3 separate regions of the Homo sapiens genome follow, and all the other regions are linked to region 2. Evidence: promoter capture Hi-C in 16 types of primary human blood cells and fetal thymus (Javierre and others, 2016). All regions are on one chromosome and are shown on one strand. Each heading gives the region's core, a stretch centred on a gene start or on the middle of the fragment in contact. The rest is flanking DNA. Distances are from core to core; before and after follow the strand shown.

The links. Contacts are between HindIII fragments. The CHiCAGO score rates a contact against its expected background, and 5 or more counts as called.
Region 1: a fragment that was not itself captured here is called in contact with the fragment with the promoter of CCDC174 in region 2 in 1 of 17 cell types (total B cells); the score reaches 6.2 in total B cells.
Region 3: a contact is called between the fragment with the promoter of HDAC11-AS1 here and the fragment with the promoter of CCDC174 in region 2, in 3 of 17 cell types (total CD8 T cells, naive CD4 T cells and total CD4 T cells). The highest score is 6.4, in total CD8 T cells.

Annotation. Positions count from the first base shown.
Region 1 is chr3:15,860,016-15,864,544 of GRCh38, reverse strand. It overlaps LOC107986064 (a long non-coding RNA gene), which reads right to left and starts at 4,431. Exons shown (of 10, transcript XR_007095831.1): 1 at 4,280-4,431. RefSeq lists a silencer at 4,414-4,529. The HindIII fragment of the contact is 497 bases long and covers 2,079-2,575 here.
Region 2 is chr3:14,650,225-14,654,680 of GRCh38, reverse strand. It overlaps CCDC174 (coiled-coil domain containing 174), which reads right to left and starts at 2,919. Exons shown (of 11, transcript NM_016474.5): 1 at 2,803-2,919; 2 at 151-255. The coding sequence starts at 2,844. It overlaps LOC124909347 (a long non-coding RNA gene), which reads left to right and starts at 2,560. Exons shown (of 2, transcript XR_007095826.1): 1 at 2,560-3,012; 2 at 3,455-4,456. RefSeq lists enhancers at 2,607-2,676, 2,817-3,216, 2,720-3,378. The HindIII fragment of the contact is 1,793 bases long and covers 1,355-3,147 here.
Region 3 is chr3:13,478,308-13,483,277 of GRCh38, reverse strand. It overlaps HDAC11-AS1 (HDAC11 antisense RNA 1), which reads left to right and starts at 3,225. Exons shown (of 2, transcript NR_046690.1): 1 at 3,225-3,635. HDAC11 (histone deacetylase 11) reads right to left here and starts at 2,972. Exons shown (of 10, transcript NM_024827.4): 1 at 2,929-2,972; 2 at 1,884-2,032. The coding sequence starts at 2,930. RefSeq lists enhancers at 2,251-2,907, 3,557-3,616 and a silencer at 2,607-3,096. The HindIII fragment of the contact is 8,461 bases long and covers 1,592-4,970 here.

The DNA of each region.
Region 1 (4,529 bases), core at 1,078-3,577, 1.2 Mb before region 2:
AGTAGTAGAACAGTAAATAAAACGTGGTGTGGCTGCCTAGCTCACAGCAAATACCCTGGCGGTCACATCTGTATAACATCTTTCCTTCTATCATTTTGGACATGAATTCTGAATGGAGATTGTCATCAGCCCCAAGACCTTGCAGTAGTGATTGGCTGAGGCATGAGCACATGAGTCTAGTCCAGCCAATTAGTCATTACTTCAGATGTCTCAGGAATATTGACTCTTTTCTTTTTATCACTGCAGAGTACTTAAAATGTGTCAGTGGAGCTACTGGCTGTAGTAATAGAGAAAAAGAAAGAGACGTGGAAAACAAGAGAGAAAAATTGATTACTGGCAACAATTAAGTTCCTGGCCCCATTGGCTTCGATGATACGGTTTTTTTTGGTGTTAAGAATTTCCCTAATATGTAAATATTTCATTATAAGCAGGAATAGCCTTATAATGAAGATTTTAAAAATATTAGAATGTGAATATGCACCTTATTTTTGCTCAATTGCATAGTTTTTTTTTTTTTTTTTTTTTTTTGAGACAGAGTCTCACTGTGTCACACAGGCTAGAGTGCAGTGGCACGATCTCAGCTCACTACAGCCTCTGCCTCCCAGGTTCAAGCAATTCTCGTGCCTCAGCCTCCTGAGTAGCTGGGATTACAGGCATGCGCCACCACACCCAGCTCATTTTTGTATTTTTAGTAGAGACAGGGTTTCGCCATGTTGGCCAGGCTGGTCTCAAACTCCTGGCCTCAAGTTATCTGCCCACCTTGGCCTCCCAAAGTGCTGGAATCACAGACATGAGCTACTGCACCTGGCCGTATAGACTTTTTTTTCCTATTTTTTTCAGCAGCTATGAAAATGTACAAGGCATCTTCAAAAAGTTCATGGAAAATGCATATTATGAAAAAATATGCATGGATTTTAATTTTTCCTTTTTTTTTCTTTTTGAGACAGAGTCTTGCTCCATTGTCCAGGCTGGAGTGCCATCTTGGCTCACTGCAACTTCTGCCTCCCAGGCTGAAGTGATTCTTGTGCCTCAGCCACCCAAATTATTGGTATTACAGGCACGCACCACCACATCTGGCTAATTTTTGTATTTTTAGTAGAAACAGGCTTTGGCCACATTGGCCAGGCTGGTCTCAAATTCCTGGGCTCAAGTGATCCACCTGTCTTGGCCTCCCAAAGTGCTGGGATTACAGCCATGAGCCACTGTGTCTCGCTGGATTTCAATTTTTTTTCACCAACATAAACTTATATTAACTTGTTATAATGTATCTGAACAGGATACAGTTTGCAGCACTAAGAAGGATAAGACGTCAGTTTGAAAAGAGCCCGTATCAGAACAACATGAATTCTGTTAAAATTGAGGCAAGAACAAACCTCAAGTTTATGGTGAAGCTTGGGTGGAAGAATGGTGAAATCATTGATGCTTTATGAATAGTTTATGGGGACAATGCCCCCTGCCCCCCAAAATAAGCAGTTTACAAATGGATAACTCATTTGAAGAAGGGACAAGACGATGTCAAACATAAAGCCCACAGTGGCAGACCATCCACATCAATTTGTGAGGAAAATATCTTGTTTGTATCCTAATTGAAGAAGACTGACGATTAACCGCACAAACAAGAGCCAACACCACAGACATCTCAATTGGTTAAGCTTACATAATTCTGACTGAAAAATTAAAGTTGAGCAAACTTTCAACTCAATGGGTGCCCAAACCATTGGGCCCAGATCAGTTTCAGGCAAGAGAAAGGCTGTCAATAGAAATTTTAAACAAGTAGGGTCAAGACCCTAAAACACTCGTACACTTCTTCAAAGAATTCTAACAGATGAAACATGGCCTTACTATTATGATCCTGAAGACAAAGCACAATCAAAGCAATGGCTACCAACAGGTGGAAGGGTCCAGCCAAAGCAAAAGCAAATCAGTCAAGAACAAAGGTCTTGGCAACAGTCTTTTGGGATGTTCAAGAGATTTTGCTTGACTTTCTGGAGGGACAATGAATGATAACATCTGCTTATTATGAAAGTATTTTTGAGAAAGTTAGTAAAAGCTTTAGCAGGAAAATGTTCAATAAAGCTTCACTAGAGAGTCCTTCTCCAACATAATGCTCCTGCTCATTCCTCTCATCAAACAAAGGCAATTTTGTTAGGATTTTGATGGAAACCCGTTAGGCATCCACCTCATACTCCTAATTTGGCTCCTTCTGACTTATTTTTGTTTCCTAATCTTAACAATTCTTTAAAAGGCATGCATTTTTCTTCTGTTATTAACATTACATTATTACTGTAAAAAAGACTGCATTGACATGAATTCCCAGGACCCTCGGTTCTTTAAGGATGAACTAAATGGCTGGTATCATTGCTTATCATCTTGAACTTGACAAATCGTATGTTGAGAAATAAAGTTTATATTTCAATTTTAACCTTTAATTCTATTTCCCACAAACATTTGAAGTACCCTGTAATTGCTGTCATAATAATAATATAGTGTAATGGTCCTTCAGAGTTTTCCACAGCCTTTCATATCACTATCTTATCTGATGGTGTGAGATGAGTAGGCCAGGAAATGTTAAGCTTAGTTTTTTTATGAATGTTGAAACTGAGACACAGAGAAGTTAAATGGTGCTCATGGTGCAGAAGGGTGAGAACCCAGCTAGGTGTGAAGCATCATCTATAAGGAGAGCTCCATGCCTACTATAATGCAGATGGTACATCATAAAACATTTTCATTAATTACTGTTAATTAGAAAATTTCAAAAGAGTCCTGGAAAGTTTCATTAGCTTCAATCACAAAATCTATTAAAATGCATATTTAGTCCATAAATTCATACTCTCAAACACACTTACATTCTCCCAAAAAATCATCTTTGCCATGTTCCTAATCAGGTTCTCATTGTGTTTTTAAATTCTAGAAATTTAACCTAGAGGAGAGATTATTTGGTGGGAAGAGGAGGGCTATATTAATTCCTGGCTCAACATCCATAGTGCTTAACAGGCTTACTTATAAATGAGGGTAAATCCTAACACTCCTAGGCCAAGATAGAACACGACTGGATATGGCACATTGGTAATTATTTACAAAGCTAACTTGTAATCACAAAGTACTGTAGTAATATTATCACAACATCTTTGTTTTGGAGAACTCAAGTGCTTTCACGACATTAACTCATTCACCCTCACTGAACTGATAAGGAGGGGTTGGGTGACAAATAGTATCTCTATTTTATCTGCTGGAGTTGAAATAAAGGGTAAAGGAGCTACTGAAGAGAATGCAAAGCAAGAGCAGTTTGATTTCCTTTTTAGCCTCATTATGACGGTTAGATCACAGTTATGAGAATTCCTCCATTTTAAGTAGAAAATATCATGACGAGGGACATAATTTTAGGTAAGAAATTGTTTCAATGGAACCATAGCATGGATATCTCAAAGAATATTGGAAGGGTCGTACTATCAGTTAATCAGGTGTGTTTTTTTATCTTGCACTCTATTTTCTTTTTTTTTTTTTTTTTTGCGTGGCTAAATCTAAGTTTTTTGTTATAAGTGCAGCATTACAATAATCTGATAGTCCTGACGAAGATCTCCATTTCTCTAGACTGCCATTAGGCTCGAATCGATTCTCTAAAGTCCATCCCAAGAGACACAACTGATGTAGTGGGTAGAAGAGACTTTTAAAAACCGACCCTGACGTCACACGTTTGTGTTTTAACCATCTGCACCTTTTATAAACCAGAGGCTGGAGCCGCCCGGGCGGACAGACCCAGGCGCACAACAATCTTCTCCCACACGAGCCTGGAATGGCAACAGCGTGCGGCTGGCTAAGAAAGAAAAGCCGTTTCAGAGCTGCGGGGTGGCGTGGGGGTGTGTGTGGCAGGATGAGGGAGTCATTCCTCTTCTCCTCCATCCAAGGATGCTATTTATTAGAAATCCTGCACATCTTTTTTTTTGTTTGTTTAAGAAAATTGATTTCTCTCGAGTGGGAGGCAAAATGCTTCAGATGCGAAAGGGGTGGAGGCAGCAAGCCTGGCTGGGGAGCTTTCAAGGGAAAACCACACAGCTTAGCTTCGGATTGGGACTACGGGCAGAAAAACGATTGGGCGTCCACAACCTGTTCGGCTGCGAAGACGACGCCCTTCCGTCCAGAGTGCCAGCATCACCCCCGCCCCTCACCCGGTCTCGGCCTGCAGCCCCCGGGGAGGACAGCAGCGCCCCCCATTCCGTGACCACCTCTCATCCCACTCCTTGGCTCCCCACCCTCCCCAAACCCAGGGGCACATTCTCACGCTTTCTCCACGTGCAAGTCCGGCTCGCCCATCGCCACTCGCCGCAGCCCCCAGGTGCCCACCCCTTCCAGCCCTTCCGGTCCCTCACCCAGCTCCTTAGTCTTGCCCTGGCTGAGGGAGGCGTCCGCGCTCCACCTCCACGTGCGAGTCCCGGGCCGTTCCCCACCTCCCCACGCCACCTCCGCCCCGGACTCCGCCTACCACGCCTGAGGCGGCAGCGCCTGGGAGCCGGGACACCTGGCCGCCCTCC
Region 2 (4,456 bases), core at 1,670-4,169:
ATAACATTTCATGCAGATGTTAAATACAAGATAGAGATTTTTCCTTAACATTTATGTGTACAGATACCACTGACAATTTTAAAACACTTAAATATGGTATAATTCTCCCATGTTTGGAACCAATGGAGATAATTAGATCTTATTTTTTACCTTGTTAGTTGTTTTTGGTTTTCCAAAAACTCCAGAATCTTTTAGAAGTTTTTCTTGTTTGAATTCTTCTTGCTTTCGGAAGAGTTCAGCCTTAAGATCTACCAACTAGAATGAAAGCAGTAAGTAAACAAAAATATTAAATTCCTGCAGGTGACTGGATTGCTAAATTATTATAATTTCCAAAGGAATATTTCAAGTTCCGCTAAATGGACAAATATGGCTAAAAAACTAAATGTTTAAGTAACTAAATGTTTAAATGTAGAATCCAGTACACAAATTAAGCTAAGTCATGTTTCATTCTACCTCTGCTGCAAATGCATTTTTACTCTGACTTTCAACACTCGAGGCTTTCCTTAGGCAAGGAGAAAGTGATAAAGCAAAATAAATTAATAAAGTCTGCATCTTTTAGTTTCAGATTAAACTTGCATTATTAAGCACCTTCTCTCTGACTAGCACTGCACTCATTTCATCATCACAACTTATTTCTACAGTGAAATGCTGTAGAAATAACGCTGAAGAGCAGAACATAAACATGAATTAGACATACTCTCTGCCTCAAAGAGCCTACAATGTAACAAGGAAAGTAATTTATACTACCAACAAAATAAAACAAATGACTCTAGAGTGGAAGAAAGTAGCACATAAGTTCAGATAACAGAGCATTTCCTTCTGAGCAGAGTGATCAGAGAAAGCTTAGAGCAGAGCCTTTAAAGACACATTATTTCAACAGCTAGAAATAAAATAGACTGGGTGAATTATAACAGCTCCACGTTTGACTTAATCCATTTCAAAAACCGTAAGCTTGGCTGAATCACACGGTTCAAGAACAGGAAAGAAGGCCAAGGCATAGGGAGTGGGGCAGTTGGGTGAATATTAGTACCTTTCCCTCAGCTACATTAATTACCCCTGCCTACTCTGCAAAAAAGGATATAACAACAGTTTCCTTTTTAATGGTCCAGGTACAGCTGCTTATATGGATGGGCATTTGTAAATCAGATACTTCATCACTGTCTTAATCATCAGATACTTAAAAAAATCACTTTATTTGTTAAGGAAGATAAAAATGGCTGGGTTCAATTTCCGTTTTGGAAGAAATCGATTTAAAAGGTAACCATTTAATAATGCAAAGGGCAGTTTCACTGCAGACCCTAATACTGGAAATTTTTAAAAACAAATGAAAAACTTCTACTTTTTCTTCTAAGCTTACTTAACCACACCAAATTTTCCAGCCACATATCTTCCTAGTCTACAACTGCCTTTAACTTTAAGAGATGCTCAAAAAAATGTAAATTCTCAAATAGCATTCTTATTACAATTACTGCTAACCTGTCAGTATAGGTTGGCTTTAATATTTATAGCTTTCTGGTTCCTGATCTTCAAACAAAATAATAACTGGTACCAATTTTAACCAATAATAGTTACCAATAATAACTAGTACTCAAATATTGGGACACCTATATGTTTTCCTTCCTACTCACTTTGTGTCCTAATACTCTGAAGTAAATTCAAGATTAAATCAAAGGTTGGGCAATTTGCTCTGATGATGAAAAGGCAGCAGCTTTGGAGTCAAGTAGAGTGAGTGAGAAAGGGTCTATCACTAAGATTTCTTCCCCCCGCCCCCCGCCCCTTAGACGGAGTTTCGCTCTTGTTGCCCAGGTTGGAGTGCAATTGCGCGATCTCGGCTCACCGCAACCTCCGCCTCCCCGGTTCAAGCGATTCTCCTGCCTCAGCTTCCCGAGTAGCTGGGATTACAGGCGTGCACCACCACGCCCGGCTAATTTTTTTATTTTTAGTAGAGACGGGGTTTCTCCATGTTGGTCAGACTGGTCTCAAACTCCCGACCTCAGGTGATCTGCCCGCCTCAGCCTCCCAAAGTGTTGGGATTACAGGCGTGAGTCACCGCGCCCGGCTATCACTAAGATTTCTGTCTGTAAGCTGGGGAAAGCTACTTCATCTTTCCAGGCCTCAATTTCATCATCCATAAAACGGAGATATTAATAGCACCTACCTCCTAAAGCCATTGGGAGGATTCAATGAGATAGTGCATATAAAGTGCTGGCACAAAATGTGTACTTAGAACAAGTTTTCTTTCTAGAGTAGCTGATGTAATAAATCTGCTTACATCCTTTCAGACCTCACAACTCCCTATGCCTGCATTAACAACTGTTTAGTTCCAGGGAGGGCACGCTGGACACTTTCGGGTCCTGCGAAATATGTCACACTCTAAAGTTCTGGGAGGACTTTGTGGGTCCCTGGATGGAGGAGAAACCAGGAAGAGGATATGTCTGCATAGCAAAAAGAAGCTAGGGTTCCTCCTGACTGTAAGGGAGAAGGCTGACGAGGTGCAGGTCCTTGTGGGCAGGGCAGAGGTGAGGCACGGAGTTTCCTAACCCACGGGACACCAGGTTCAGATCCGTGTCCGAGGGTTCTGGCCCGGGCGCATGTCAGAGGAGAGTAGCCCAATTCAGGGTCCTGTAAGAAAACTGAACCGGATCCCCGCCGGAGAAGAAAATCCAGTTCGGGGGTTCCTGTTTGAGGGGAGAGGTCAGGTCTCTGGGTCCCCGAGTGAAGAAACAAGCTAGGTCGACATTCTTGTCTGATGGAGACACGGTGAACCCGGAGCCCGTGGAGTTACCTCATACCCTCACTCACCGAGGAGGCCGTGACGTCCAAAGGCTTTTTCCTACGGTCCATGGTCGTGGCAGAGGGTCCCGGTCCAGGAAGGACCCTTTCTACCCGACACAGGCCTCGTAAGCCTACCTCCGTCGCAACCGGAAGTGTCTTCGACAGCGACACTGAGTTTGCGTGAGTTTGCGACGCGAGTTTGTCAGCTCAGCGCCATCTTGAGAAGGTCAGAGTGTGGTGCGTATTACGTTCACCATCATTTTGGAAAGGTCATAGAGTGCGGAGGTTGACGCTAACTGCTAAGGTCATCTTGAGGGCGGAAGGTAACAAGGATTGGTGTGGGCGCCATCTTGAGAAGGGCGGAATAAAGCTTTTGATTGCGATGGACGCCATATTGGGTGGGGCGGATGTGGGGTTGGCGACAAAGATAACGCCATCTTGGGGAAGGCTGACGCTTAAGTAAGTGAACTCGAGCGTCTCGGGAAAGGTGGATTGGGAGGACCGGAAGAATCTTAACTGCAATTCCAGGACCTGCTGCCTGGCACTTTTCACACGTTAAATAGTTGGTTCTTAAAAGAGCGTACGAGATAAGGATTATTATATTAATCTTAGTAGAAATAACAAGAATAATAGCTAACATTAATGTAGTGCTTATTATGGGCCACTTTACATATTTCAGCTCTTAAGAACGTGAACTCCTGGGCCGGGCGCGGTGGCTCACGCCTGTAATCCCAGCACTTTGGGAGGCTGAGGCGGGTGGATCAGGAGGTCAGGAGTTTGAGACCAGCCTGACCAACATGGTGAAACCCCGTCTCTGCTGAAAATACAAGAAAAAAAAAAAATTAGCCGAGCGTGGTGGTGCGCGCCTGTATTCCCAGCTACTCAGGAGGCTGAGGCAGAAGAATCGCTTGAACCTGGGAGGTGGAGGTTGCAGTGAGTCGAGATCAAAAAAAAAAAAAACAAAGAACACGTGAACTCGAAAGCTGACTTTCTGGGTTGGAATCGCTCTTCACGGCTTACTGCTTGTGTGACCTTGGGCAAGTTACTTAACTTCCGTGTGCCTCAGTTTCCAAAGGGGGATATAATTTTATTTACCTAATGGGTCTTAGTGAGGATTAGATGAGTTAAATGAGCTAGTCTTGATAAAAATGTTAATGATTATGGTAGACAGACCAATCACCCTCACCCCGACTCCCAGATGTCTACCTTCTAATCCCCAGAATCTGGGTATATGGTGACCTTTATATAGCAAAAGAGAATTGGCAGAGATGATGAAATTAAAGCGATTGAGATGGGGAGCTAGCCTGGATTGTGCAGGTGGGTCCCCTATCATCAAAACCATCCTTATAAGGGGTAGACAGGATGGCCAGAGTCAGACAGAGATCAGAGATGCTTTGAAGAGGGAGAGTGGGACCACATGCCTAGGTATGCAGGAGGCCGCTAGAAAAAGCAAAGAAATGAGCCCTCCTCCAGAGTCTCCAGAAGGAATGCAGCATTGCTGACACGGTGATTTTAGTCTTGTAACACTCATCTCAAACTTCTGACTTCCAGAACTCTACCAGAATACGTTTGTGTTGTTTTAAGCCACCAAACTTGTGGCAATTTGTTACAGCAGCAAGACGAAAGTGATCATAATGATTGTAACAGTGGCATTTAGTATATGTGGGGCATGTGTATGACT
Region 3 (4,970 bases), core at 1,976-4,475, 1.2 Mb after region 2:
CTCTGGCCAGGGAGCAATGAACATCGTACACACAGCAATCCCCATGTTTCCCAAGCCACTGATAGTCACAAGGAGAGCTCAGGTGTGCTAGACAACCTTCAGGAGCAGGTGGCACAAGGGTCAGGGATGTTGACCCTCAGAGTGAGAAAAACTCTTCTTAGGAATTCCCCCTCCACCTTCCCCCCGCCCTTTTTTTTTTTTTAATTCATTTAAAGAGACAGGGTCTTGGCCAGGTGTGGTGGTTCACGCCTGTAATCCCAGCACTTTGGGAGGTTGAGGCAGGTGGATTGCTTGAGCCCAGGAGTTCAAGACCAGCCTAGACAACATAGTGAGACCGCATCTCTACAAAATATCAAAAACATGAGGTGGGAGGATCACTTAAGCCAGGGAGGTTGAGGTGGCAATGAGCCTTGATTCCGCCACTGCACTCTAGCCTGGGTGATGGGAGTGAGACCCTGTCTCAATAAATAAATAAACAAATAAATAAATGCAAGACAAGGTCTTGCTCTGTAGCCCAGGCTGGAGTGCAGTGGCACAACCATAGCTCACTGCACCCTCGAACTTCTGGGCTCAAGTGATCCTCCTGCCTCAGCATTTCAAGTAGCTAGGACTATAGGTGCATACCACCACCCCCAGCTAAGTTTTTTATTTTTATTTTGTAGAGACAGGATCTTGCTATGTTGCCCAAGCTGGTCTCAAACTCCCGGCCTCAAGTGTTCTCCTAGCCTTGGCCTCCCAGAGTGCTGGGATTACAGGCACGAGCCACTGCGCCCGGCCTCCCTCCACCTTCTGATGATATTACAGGAGGCTCAGTGTGGCATGGCCTCGCAACACCTGCCTGTGCTTTGCTCATCTTCCGTTCAAACCACTAATCAGTCTCACAGCCTGCAGGCAATAGTAACCAGCCTGGATTGAATTATACTGTTGTTTTCATTGCATTTACTTTTTTACCATGACCTATTTATGGCAAGTGAAACTGCCTTTTCCCATTTTGATGACATAATGTTTCCTTTTAAAACAAGTTTAAGTGAATTTCCCACCTAAATCAGGCCCCTTGATTACAAACCACAGTTAAAACGATATGCTCTTCGAAGCATCATTTTGCTCAAGGGGATGAGCCCTAAAGGTAGGGCGCCTGGAGCTCTGAGTTCCAAACCCAACTCCGCCTCTTGTAACTGTGTTACTTCAGCCACTAATGGGAGCTGTGTCCTTCCCTGGAAAGAGGTCACAAGCAGGCAGCCAGTGTGCCCAGTTCGGTCTACAGGTGGGCTTTTACAATCTTATAATGAGTGCCATATTAAGAAATCAGGGCCGGGTGTGGTGGCTCACGCCTGTAATTCCAGCTACTTGGGAGGCTGAGGCAGAAAAATTGTTTGAACCTGAAAGGCGGAGGTTACAGTGAGCTCCTGAGCCTCTGCTGCGATTGTGGTGCCTACCCCGAGGGCTGCTGTGAGGACTGGACTGGAATTGGGTGCACATGTTTCCTAATCATTCTAGGACACAATTTCCCCCATCTGTAATCAAGAGAGGTGCGGTGGAGGTGCTCTACCTCCTGACTCTCTGAACCTTAGGAAATGGACTCCTCCAAGCTTCACCTTCCCTGTGCCCATCAGTAATCAGCTACCTTTCCACTAGGCCTCTTGGGCAGAGGCAGGACTTAGGCCCACAGGATGGGGAGCCAGGGAGAGTCTGAGTCAGGGACATCATATCGTGATTAGGAGTCTGTGTTGGAAAAATCATTTTGGGCGGAAGCATGGGTGGAAGGCCATCCGAGGGCTGAAACTGAAGATGGGAGAGAGCCTGAGGCTTATGTTGGGGATGAGGACGGAGAGGACAGGTGGGTTGGAGGAAGCAGATGAGAGTCCAAGGGGGACCTTCCATACCTTTTAGGAAATTGATCACTTTGCCCCATTTTCCGGCATCAAAGGGATGCAGCTTCTCCAGGCCCATGAAGGTGATGTTGTAGCGCGGCGAGTACACGATTGGCCAGCGTGTCTCTGGCACATGCTGGTACAGCTGGGTTGTGTGTAGCCTACCGTGTGGAAAAAGACAGACGCACAGCTGGGGCAGCCTCGGCAGAAAGCAGCTCCCTCCCGAGCCCGCCTGGACTGACCCACCAGCCATTGCCCAGCACCACTAGCCCCTCAGCCGCAGACAAGGGCCCCTCAACAACAGCTGCTTAAACTGGCTGCCTTTCCCGGAACCCAATTCCAATCCAGTCCTCACAGCAGCCCTGGGGGTAGGCACCACAATCGCACCAGAGGCTCAGAGAGCAGACCAGGTGTGCCCAAGGTCACAGTGCAGGTCTGTGGAGAAGCAGGCGTGCACTCAGGTGTGTCTGGCTGCAAGGCCTCCGCGCATCACCTCTGCACCGTAATAAATGCCCCCACAGCTGTGTGGCACAAGGCTTCGGCTGCAAAATGTGTGGCTGTTGTGAGGACTCAGAGAATGCAACTGAGGAGCTGAGCACAGTAAGCACTCAGAAACCCAAGTCGGGACCCAACCTGAGCCAGGGCGGGGGGCGGGGATCCCCTGACCCCGCTGCGCTGCTAACCCTTCCCATCACACCCTGGCAGTCGTCACCCAGAGACAGAAATCCGCCCCAGTGGCTGCCTCCGTGGGGGCGTCCGCGTAGCCAGGGGGCTGGGCAGCGCAGACGTCAGACCCGCGCACATCGCCCGACCGCTCCGGGTCCGGGCCCAGGCCCGCGGCCGGCGCGCGTCCCTCGGGCCACCGAGCAGGGGCGCGGGGCTGGCCTGGCGCGCCGGGAGGGCCTGGAAACACCCGTCCCGAGCGTCCCTCACCCCTCACCAGCAAATCTGGGCCCTTACCTGGCGCGCCCGCCCGGCCGTCCCCGCCCTCGCCCTAGCGCGCCCGCCCACCGGGACCCCTGGGAGCCCACCCCCGCCCTCGCCCCGCGGCACTCACATCCCGGGGCCGGCCCTCCCAAAGCTGGCCGCAGCTCCGCGACCGGGCGGGGCGGGGCGGGGCGCGGGTGGGGCCAGCCCAGGACACGCCCCCGGGCTTAGCCGCGTCCTCTGGGGGCAGAGCTCTGGCCGATTTGGCCCGCCCCGCCAGTGTTGCGACACAGAGAGCCTGCCCGCAGGAAGGCCACCCCCAACGCCCATCAAGCCCGAAGTCCCGCCTCCGCAGGCAAATACCCGGTGGAATCCCGCCTGGTTCGGAAGCTCCGCCCCCTGGCGGGAGGGCCAAGCGGGTTTCACCCCGGCCTCGCGGAAGGGGCGCGACCACCGTATGTCCTGTTCCTGCGCTTCCCAAGCTGGGTAGAAACGGCGAGAGGCTGGGGGTTAGAAACGACAGGTTCCCGGCGGGCTGTGCCGGGGCTTCGCTGTGTGACCTTGGGCTGGCGTCTGGGCTCTCTGGGCCCTTGTTTCCGCGAGTTAAACGTAGGGGCGGGGGAGTTTCTCTGGCCCTGCCGCCTGTGACCTAAGGAGCCCCGTGACCTCTCCGACCCGAGCCCACCCCCGGCCCAGTCTGCGAGCAGCTCCGGGACAAGCACTCCCGGCGAAGACATGTAGGCTCTCAGAGCCTGCGTTTCCCTCTGTAGAGCAGGCCTAGTTACTGTCTTCAGGGTGCACGCGTCTCCGTCCCCGACCCGCACCCTCACCGCCGGGGTAAGCTGAGCCAGGCCCAAGCGACAGCTGGGGTTGTCCGTGGGGCTGCAACCCAGGAGGAGGCCCCAACAATAGAGCCCCAGAGGACGGAGACAATGGGCCTCTCTGTCGGCCCAGCCGTCCCCGCCATCCAAACAGAAGCAGCTGACGGAGGACTGCCGGGCTGGGATCCCTGGGCTCCGCGGGGGCGGCTGTGTGCCAGGGCGGGGCACAAGGGAAGCGCACAGACGTTTGAAGAGGGGCCCCCGTGTGCCTGCCATGATTGCATGATGGCATCTGAGCCTCACAACCTAATCCTGAGAAAGGTGCCATAATCACCCCAACTTTATCTTGAGGGAACTGAGGTTCGGGCCTGGATTAAACCCAAACTCGGCCACCCGCCAGCATAGTGGCTTTGGGCAGGTTGCTTCAGCCTTCTGGTCCTTCATGTCTGCATCTGAAAATGAAGTACTGGGCCGGGTGCGGTGGCTCACGCCTGTAATCCCAGCACTTTGGGAGGCCGAGGCGGGTGAATCACCTGAGGTCAGGAGTTCGAGACCATCCTGACCAACATGGTGAAACCCCGTCTCTACTAAAAATACAAAAAATTAGCTGGGCGTGATGAAGGGCGCCTGTAATCCCAGCTACTCGGGAGGCTGGGGCAGGAGAATCGCTTGAACCGGGGAGGGGAGGTTGCGGTGAGGCCGCGCCATTGCAATCCAGCCTGGGCGACAAGAGTGAGACTCCATCTCAAAAAAAAAAAAAAGGAAGAAAATGAAGTTCTGGTTGCACTTCATTCTCTGGATTTCATGGGCAAGTCCAGGGAATCAAGAGACAATAATGTTGATTATTATTCAGAGACCATCTGTCATGTGCTAAGTTGAAGTCCAAATGCTTTTTGCTTGTCGAACTCTTCTGACAGTCCTAGGAGGCAAACTATTGTCATCCCCATTTTATAGATAAAGAAATTGAGGCACAGAATGGTGAAGTAACTCACTCAAAGGTCAGGGATGTGGGCAGATGTAAACCACAGAAGGAATAAGTACTATTTTATAAAGTGACAGAGTGCATGCAGTGGCCCTGTGGCATTTGTGAGAGACCGACTTCCCCTCAGGGAACTTGCTCTGTAGTTTGGGAAGCCACACAGATGATCCTCTGGTTGGGAGAATGAGGATCTGGGCAGCCTGGACCTGAAGCTGAGGCCAAAGAGAGTGGGATTGGTCTGAATAAGTGGGTTTTTAAATTTTTTTAATTTTTAAATTATTTTTTAAGAGACACAGCCTCACTATATTGCTAAGGCTGGTGTCTAACTCCTGGGCTCAAGCGATCCTCCCACCTTGGCCTTCCAAAGTGTTG